3 separate regions of the Homo sapiens genome follow, and regions 1 and 3 are each linked to region 2. The links are contacts of gene promoters, found by promoter capture Hi-C in human tissues and cell types (Jung and others, 2019). All regions are on one chromosome and are shown on one strand. Each heading gives the region's core, a stretch centred on a gene start or on the middle of the fragment in contact. The rest is flanking DNA. Distances are from core to core; before and after follow the strand shown.

Region 1 (2,892 bases), core at 363-2,862, 130 kb after region 2:
TTGGGAAGCTAAGACAGAAGGATCACTTGAAGCTAGGAGTTCAAGACTAGCCTGGCAATACAGGAAGACCCTGACTCCAAAAAACTTTTTTTAGTTAGTAGGGCATAGTGGCAATGCCTGTAGGCCCAGCTGCTGGGGAAGCTGAGGTGGGAGGATTGCTTGAGTCCAGGAGTCGGAGGCTGCAGTGAGCTATGATTAAGCACTGCAGGCTGAGTGAGACAAAGTGTGACCTCCATCCCTACAAAAAAAAGAAAAAAAAATTCCTTCTCTTGTAGCTCTATGTCCAGAGAAAATAAAGTTCAACTCTGCATTCTTAGTACTTTTCTGTTACTATTAGCATTACAGTTCTTAATCATCAGTGTTTCTTGAAATTTTTATGGACTATTTATTGGAAGAAAACACAAATGCTAAATTTGATTACCATATTTTTTTCCTGAAGATGCAGATTACAGTAGTGCCAAAGTATGTGATAAGTCATCAAAATAATTCTCTATCAATGGGGAAAAAAAATCACAACCAAAAAAGCAGACACACCCTGCACTCAACATTTTTCTCAAAAAAATGGCATCTTTAAATATCTCCACGGTGGTAAAAAATGAATCTTCTCCAATACAATTTTGCAAAACTATTAAAATGTAACATATGCTAATGAATAATGGCTCAAAAATTAACATGGTAGAAAATACCATGTATTTCCTGAAATAAAGAGAAATGTTTAAATGCTAGATCAGTGTTTCTCCTGAATAATCATTAATAACCTATACATTCAACAAATATACCGAGAGCCTTAAGTTGGCCGCATCATTATCTATGGCAAAACTTGAAAACTGATTTAAAAACAGCCTAGTATGTTATGTTTGGCTTGAAAACTTAGAAGATACACTTGATCAAAAAAACAGTATGCAGAAGAAATACAGCAAATGAAGTTGTCACCTAGGAGACTAGCCAATTTAAAGAGTCGGGCCACATCACAAGTAAATTTTACAATAGTAGAAATAAATTACTCTCTTTAGACTATGTGGGGCACACAACAATGTTTTAGTTTGGCTGGGACTAGATTCCTATGCCTGGCTGTTTATCTATCTGTCAATCCTATTAACAGCTGTCATTTAAGGTTAAAGTCCACTACAGTTAATATCCTTCAATTAAAACATCCAAAATTAAATTCAGAACAATAGTCCACTTAGTTTGAGCACTATTCATTATGATAAAATTCTGGTATAATAAAACTATCTGAACATGTTACTAAAATCTACTTTACAGACCTCAGGAGCCAGGAAAAAGAACAAATATTTTTAGCCCTGAGTTTTTTTAGTTCACAAGGTATCAGTTTTCTCAAAGAGTCTCATCACAGTCTAACTTGCTATGATTTTTTTAAGATGACAAATGGGAGAGGACGCAGTGTTTGCTTTTATTTTTATTTAAAGGGAAAGAATAAAAGCCAATGATGACAGCAATTGAATTCCAAAAATGTTAGAACACAGAATAAAAATACACAGAAAACTCTCCTTCAAGACCACATTAATGAAAATGATACAATCTTGCTCTGAAGCAAATTAACAGTACACTTAAAAGTACCAGTCCTACCCACCACAGAGATTCTTGACCAGAGGGACTGAGCTAAGATTTTCCCATCACCCATTTTATACCTCTTTCACCCACTATCACACAACCACTAAACAAAGCTACAAAATACAATTTTTAAAAAAAAGGGGCCAGGCATGGTGGCTCATGCCTGTAATCCCAGCACTTGGGGAGGCTGAGGCGGGCAGATCACCTGAGGCCAGGAGTTCCAGACCAGCCTGGCCAACATGGCGAAACTCCTATTAAAATCTCTACCAAAAATACAAAAATTAGCCAGGCGTGATGACACATGCCTGTAGTCCCAACTACTCGGGAGGCTGAGGCAGAAGGATCGCTTGAACCTGGGAGGCGGAGGTCGCAGTGAGCCAAGATCGCCCCACTACACTCCAGCCTGGGAGACAGAGCGAGACTTCATCTCAAAAAAAAAAAAAAAAAAAAAAGAAAGAAAGAAAGAAAAAAGCTGTAACCCCAAAGGAGTTTTATTCCCTAATCCTTTTTGTATCAAAACATATCGACCCCGATTCAACTAATCATTATCCTATAGAGGATAAAGCAAAAAGTAAGAAAATCATCTATGTTTGGCTTTGGAATTCAAGAGATTTTTTGAACAAATAACCTTCTGGAATGTTATAGTTTGGCTAATACTAGTTAGCACAAATCCTGATCCAAAAATCATCCAGCCTTTGCAAATTACTTTGCTCAACGGTATTGACTTACTGCTACAAAATGAGTAACTGAGGGTTTAAAGTATGTATTAAATCAGACGTGATTTGCTGTAACTGATCTTTGCCAGTTAGCAATAAAATAAGTTTACATTCTATTTCTACACATCAGCTAAACTTGAAAGGAAGGTAACCCAAACAAATGCTAAGTGACATAAGAGAAAATGAAATTTAAAATGCACTATGGAATCTGAACAGATTCTTCAGAACTGTCGAAATCATCAAAACCAAAGAAAGTCTGAGAAACTGTCACAGTCTAACAAAGCCTAAGGAGACATGACAATTAAATGTAATAGGGGTATCTTAAATGAGATCCTAGAAAAGAAAAACATATTAGGCAAAAAAATAAAGGAAATCCAAATATATACTTTAGTTAATAATAAAGTATCAATATTGGTTCATTAGTTAATTTTTAAAAATACACTGCATGACACAAAGGAGCTAAGGGGGTTAAACAAAGGCAATTCTGTATTTCTGTTACTGAATATTCCAGTTAAGAAAAACTGAGAATTCTAATCTTTGAAAAAAGAAATGCTTTCCCTCTTCCCTCACTACCAAGAAAAACAAGGGCAATATTATCACCATA
Region 2 (3,108 bases), core at 341-2,840:
GAAAGTCCACGGACAACAATGCAACAATGGAGTTGACAGCTTCCACTCCAGAAAGAAGGCGAAGGATGAGTTTCTTATCCTGAGCCCAGCTTTGGCTCTGGTCAGCAGGTGCACAAAGTGCCATCCGTACCAAACAGGGCAGAAGAAGTCTTAATTCTGGATCACTTAAAGATGCCAGGCAAACAACATCCACCTTCTGCATTGCCTCAAAAGCAAAAGGGCTGACAAACTGAAGACTTGTACATTCAGTCATTATTACTGTTTGTTGATCCTAATGGTAAAAATACAAATGAAAGTAGGAGTTTAACTTTCACATGTATGAACACCCAACTTTCTAAAAACCCTGAAAAATGTGGTGTATCTTTAATAGGTCCCTATGTTGGCAATGTTCCTGGCACAATCAAGACAAGGCTTCTCTGTCTCCCTAGGTTTATACTGTCACCTGGGAAATGGGAAAGAAAACAGAGTATATTAATGTCTCTTCCAGCCTCAGGAATCTTCTGCTCTAATACTCATATTTTACAAAGAAGGAATATGAAGCCCAGAGAGATGAAGTAACACGCCCAAAATAGTATTACTAGTTAGAGGCACAATCCAAGGCTGAATCCTCATCTACTAAAATCCCAGTCCAAGACTTTCTCCACTATATCAGTCACATGAGCTCCACAAAATGTAAACAAAAGTGAATGGTCATAGTTAAGTGCTTTCTTTCATACCCCGATAGTTTCACATGCCTACCCCGATATACATCAAGAACTATTGGGCTTCTCTTTCTCACCCTCCATGAGTCGGTGGAAAAACTAGCAAATCACTGGGCAGAACCAATGCCAGATTCAAGGCTCTGGAGGCCACAACACTATCCTATGTCCCCTGTGTTACCGGGTAAAAAGCAGATGTGTGGGTGCTATGTGAGAAAGACGCGTCTCATTAGCGCACTTCTCTGTCTCCAGGAATCATCCAAGGCACAAAAAGTAAACAAAAAGGCAGTGAGCTGGCAGCCAAAGCAGTCCCCTCTCAAGGCCGACCGACTAGCAGCAGCGTGGGTAAAAGTCGTGGGTAAAAACTGCTTTGCTTTCAGGGAGGGGCTGCTCTTTTAACAGAGGGGCGGGCTGACTGGAGCAGAGGAGCCAAGACCTGCGTGCTCCTCCGTCTCGCCCCGGGCGCAACTAGAACCAATAAGTCCCTCAGGCTGAGCAAAGTCTGGCCAGGCTCCGACACGGACCTAGGAACGCGCTGAGGCCAGAGAAGCGGACGCTTCATACCTTAAGATCTACCCTCCAGCCTCACGGAACCGCACACGGACTCCGCGTCCTAGAGGCGGGACGCGGCAGAAATCGAGAGCGCGGTCCGATGTTGGGCCTAGGCGATATCCGGAACCCCAAACCCTAGTTGTGCCTCGAGTCGACTCGGACACCAAGAACTCAGACGCCGGGACCAACCGGGTTGTCGATACAAAGTGGGAAGGATGGGGGCACCACACAAAGGCAGAACCGGGACTGTAGGAACGGAAAAGCGGGAGACTTTTTCAACCTGCACCCAGCACCTTCATTCATCCCCAGCGTCTGACTCCCGTCGGCCACCGTACTGGTCTGAGAGGAAGGGTGGCTGCGAGAGGAAAGGCAGAGACGTCGGCGCCAATGCAACTGTGCGCGTGCGCGGCCCCGCCCCTTTCTCCACTTTATTTGCCCTGCCCTACTTGTTCGCCAAAAATTTAGAAATGTGATTCTGGTAGGCTCTGATTTCCAGAGCCTACCAGCTCCTTCCTTTTAGACAAGCAAGCCACTGAGCCCCTCAGAACTTAAATTTCATCATCACAGGATTGCCATGGCATTCAAATGGCATAACGTGTGTTAAAATCGTTCCCACTATTCTTTGACACTAGTGGTACCAAACTGTACTCTTTAAATCTTTGCCTGTGCCTTCCCAGAACCAAAATTCTAGAATCCCAGGATTTGTGGGAGAATTTTAAAAGTGATCTAACCCCAAACTTTCTTCCGCTCTTGACCTCACACCTCCGCTGTCAGAAGTTAAACACCTTCCTTTCAGGTTCTTAACTTGGGGGACCCATAGAACCTTAGAGAGGCAATGCACGGGGATTCAGGAATTCTCTGGAATCCGTTCAGAACTGAGTGCTCGGCACTTCTTCTGGGAAGAGGGTCCAAAACTTTCAACAACTTCTCAAAGGAAGTCTGATCACTCAGAAAAGAACCACTAGTCTATATATGAAGAACCGCTAGTCCATATGTCTTCATACTATTTATTGTTCCTAGTTCGATCAACGTTTATTTGGCAACTTCTATTTACCAGATATTGTGCTAGGAGCTGGAAATAAAAATATTTTACAAAGATATAGCACTTTATAACCTCTTTAAAAATAAAGTCAGAGCCGGGCGTGGTGTCTCATGCCTGTAATCCCAGCGCTTTGGGAAGCCGAGGCGGGCGGATCACCTGAGGTCAGGAGTTCGAGACCAGCCTGACGCAACATGACTAAACCCCAACTCTACAAAAAATATAAAAATTAGGCCGAGCACGATGGCTCATGCCTGTAATCCTAGCACTTTGGGAGGCCGAGGCAGGCAGATCACGAGGCCAGGAGTTCGAGACCAGCCTGACCAACATGGTGAAACTCCGCCTCTACTAAAAATGCAAAAATTAGCCAGGCGTGGTGGTGTGCGCCTGTAATCTCAGCTACTTGGGAGGCTGAGGCGGGAGCATTGCTTGAACCTGGGAGGCGGAGGTTGTGGTGAGCTGAGATCGTGCCATTGCACTCCAGCCTAGGCAATAAGAGCGAAACTCCGTCTCAAAAAAAAAAAAAAAAAAAAAAAATTACCCCAGCGTGGTGATGGAGCACCTGTAGTCCCAGCTACTTCGGAGGCTGAGACAGGAAAATCACTTGAACCTAGGAGGCAGATGTTTCAGTGAGCAGAGATCATGCCACCGCACTCCAGCCTGGGCAACAGAGCCAGACTCCATCTCAAAAATATATATATATATATGACTTTCAACATAGATCAGCAAAGGAAGAAAAGAATTGTGTGTTGCAATGCTTCTGAAAATTTTTTCCACCTGACCCACAATAATACATTTCACATTGTGACCCAGAAAAAA
Region 3 (2,857 bases), core at 61-2,560, 170 kb after region 2:
AGAACCGTAATGTACCTGAAATATTGTACTCATAATACTAAAGATCCTGACCACTATTTATAAAAGTGTTTCTGTGGGAAAGTGCATTTCGAGTTTTAATGCCGGTAACACATATTCCTCAGCCCTGTGAGTCCTCTGGACTCTTGACCTTACTCCCACTGTGCTGATTCTTATCAGAATGGCACCATAAGCGCTGGCACCATAAGCAGCAGGAAGGCAAGTTAGTTGCTTTCTGTTGCTACAGAATTCAAGCTGAAGTTTCAAGCAATTCATCTTCACTGAGCTGACCCCAACCCCTACCATGTACCCTGGCCTGTGATCTAAGTTTAGCCTTTTAAACACAACAAAGAGCCTCTTATGCAAAACATGCTTTGTGCACCCTATCCCAAGCTGATACATAAACTCTGTCACATTAGGGACTCAATTTGGATGTTTCTGGAATGCCAAAGATGAGCGGGAGTCTTCGTTTCATGAGGAAAATGGTCTGGAAAATTTTGGGACTAGTAAAATCCCTGAGACACTGGAAAGGGACAGCTTTTGAAGAGGGGCTTGTATAATCAAGCGGAGAAGTCACCTGATGTTGACTGAAAGGAGATGAAAAATGTCCCTAAGGAGGCCAGGCATGGTGGCTCACGCTTATAATCCCAGTGCTTTGGTAGGCCGAGGTGGGCGGATCACTTGAGGTCAGGAGTCACAACGCCAGGAGTTTGAGACCAGCCTGGCCAACATGGTGAAACCCCATCTCTACTAAAAATACAAAAATTAGCTGGGCATGGTGGCGACCGCTTGTAACCCCAGCTACTTGAGAGGCTGAGGCATGAGAATAGTTTGAACCCAAGAGGCAGAGGTTGCAGTGAGCCCAGATCATACCACTGCACTCTAGCCTGGGTGACGGAGCGAGACTCTGGCTCAAAAAAAAAAAAAAAAGAGTCCCTAAGTTTAGAACACTGGTGTCTTTGGCAAGGACAAGTATCTCTGAGTATGATACAGACACTCAAATACTCTCACTTAGAGAGTTCAGGTGGAGAACTGAAATCTGAAAGATCCACATGACATTCTGGGGGCCTAAAAACTATGATTTCTTCATAGACAAAAGATATTTTCTGTTGGCTATGAAGATTGTAATTGTAGGAAACTTTCTCACTATATCCAGAGCCCCAGCCTCAGTGGTAGAGGACAATGACATGTGGTGGTCCTGTTGGCCTGGAGGAGTAGCGAGGATTCAAGATTAGAGCCTGGGATAGTCACAGAGGCCGTTGAAGGACAGCATGAGTCCCTGGGACGCTCAGGACTAGATCCACTTTGGGCAGTTGGGGCTTCGAGCCCTAGTGCCACACAGGGCTTATTTTGGTAAAGCACTCTGATTGGGACAATACCTTTCCTCTATGGTGTACAGTCTTGATGGGACTAGAAATCAAACTGCCTTGTTCTTTCCTAGCCAGGGAGCGAGGTGAACAGACTGTTTCCTTAGATTTGAATCTTAGGGCTGGGCACGGTGGCTCACACCTGTAATCCTAGCACTTTGGGAGGCTAAGGCTGATGGATCACTTGAGCACAGGAGTTTGAGACCAGCCTGAGCAACATGGCGAAACCCTGGCTCTACAAAAAAAATACAAAAAAATTAGCTGGGCCTGGTGGCGTGCACCTGTAGTCCCAGCTACCTGCGGGGCTGAGGTGAGAGGATCGCTTTAGCCCAGGAGGTCAAGGTTGCAGTGAGCCGAGATCACACCACTGCACTCCACCCTGGGTGACAAAGTGAGGCGCTGTCTCAGAAAAAAAAAAAAAAGATTTGAATCTTGAATGGCACGACCTAGACACTAAAAGCTGGTTGGCACCTATTGTCCCAGCGTTGTGCCCCCAGCCACCTTAACCTCTAGAGTTGCCCGGCTTCCTGTCCTCCAAGCAGACTCTCTAGCTTTCCCATGAGTCCCATCTGCTACCTATTATCCTCCCAAAACAGTTCTCTCCTACTCAAGTCATCCAGTCTGTTTCTGTTTTGTATGATTGAAGAACTCTCACTAATACAGACTCTGATGGCAGAAGGTTGATCAAGGAAAATCTGCCAGTACAATTTGTAAAGCAACTCAAAGCCTAAATCAGCAGAAGGAATAGTTATAGCATATCATCTTCAGATACAAAAATGACAGTTCATATCTTTCAGATGTGATGAGCTCAACTTTACCTGATATGTTCACAATGTCAAGTTCAAATTTAAAAAACAAAAAACAAGCAAACAATAAAACCCTTTTGGCCAGGCACAGTGGCTAATGCCTGTAATCCCAGCACTTTGGGAGGCCGAGGCAGGCAGATAACTTGAGGCCAGGAGTTCGAGACCAGCCTGGTCAACACGGTGAAACCCCGTCTCTACTAAAAATACAACAAATTAGCGGGGCGTGGTGGTTCGTGACTGTGGTCCCGGCTGCTTGGGAGGCTGAGGCAGGAGAATTGCTTGAACCCGGGAGATGGAGGTTGCAGTGTGCTGAAATCATGCTACTGCCCTCCAGCCTGGGTGACAGAGCAAGACTCCGTCTAAAAAAATTAAAATAAAAATAAATTAGCCGGGCATGGTGGTATGTGCCTGTAGTCCTATCTACTTGGGAGGCTGAGGTGAGAGGATGGGTTGAGCCCAAGAGTTTGAAGTTACAGTGAGCTATGATCACACCACCGCAGTCCAGCCTGAACAACAGAGTGAGACCTCTGTTGTTTAGAGTGAGACCTCTGTTGTTTAGAGTTCTCTGTTGTTTAGAGTGAGACCTCTAAAAACTATTTTTTTTTTTTACCTGAGAAGGCAAAGATGGATGGGTAGAGGGAAGGTTAATATAAATATTATTCTGGGAACAAGTTACGAATTCCTAGC

The links. Contacts are between HindIII fragments. The study calls those that stand out against the background at their distance.
Region 1: a fragment that was not itself captured here is called in contact with the fragment with the promoter of INTS2 in region 2 in 5 of the 25 tissues and cell types used here (bladder, dorsolateral prefrontal cortex, liver and 2 more).
Region 3: a contact is called between a fragment that was not itself captured here and the fragment with the promoter of INTS2 in region 2, in 1 of the 25 tissues and cell types used here (lymphoblastoid cells).

Annotation. Positions count from the first base shown.
Region 1 is chr17:62,056,519-62,059,410 of GRCh38, forward strand. All of the region lies in intron 2 of MED13 (mediator complex subunit 13), which reads right to left. Among named protein-coding and RNA genes, the nearest start is that of MED13, 7.3 kb to the right of the region's middle. The HindIII fragment of the contact is 7,913 bases long and covers 1-2,892 here.
Region 2 is chr17:61,926,392-61,929,499 of GRCh38, forward strand. It overlaps INTS2 (integrator complex subunit 2), which reads right to left and starts at 1,591. Exons shown (of 25, transcript NM_001351695.2): 1 at 1,263-1,591; 2 at 1-271. The coding sequence starts at 253. RefSeq lists a silencer at 1,622-1,721. The HindIII fragment of the contact is 16,998 bases long and covers 1-3,108 here.
Region 3 is chr17:62,101,577-62,104,433 of GRCh38, forward strand. No RefSeq gene overlaps it. Among named protein-coding and RNA genes, the nearest start is that of MED13, 38 kb to the left of the region's middle. The HindIII fragment of the contact is 7,276 bases long and covers 1-2,857 here.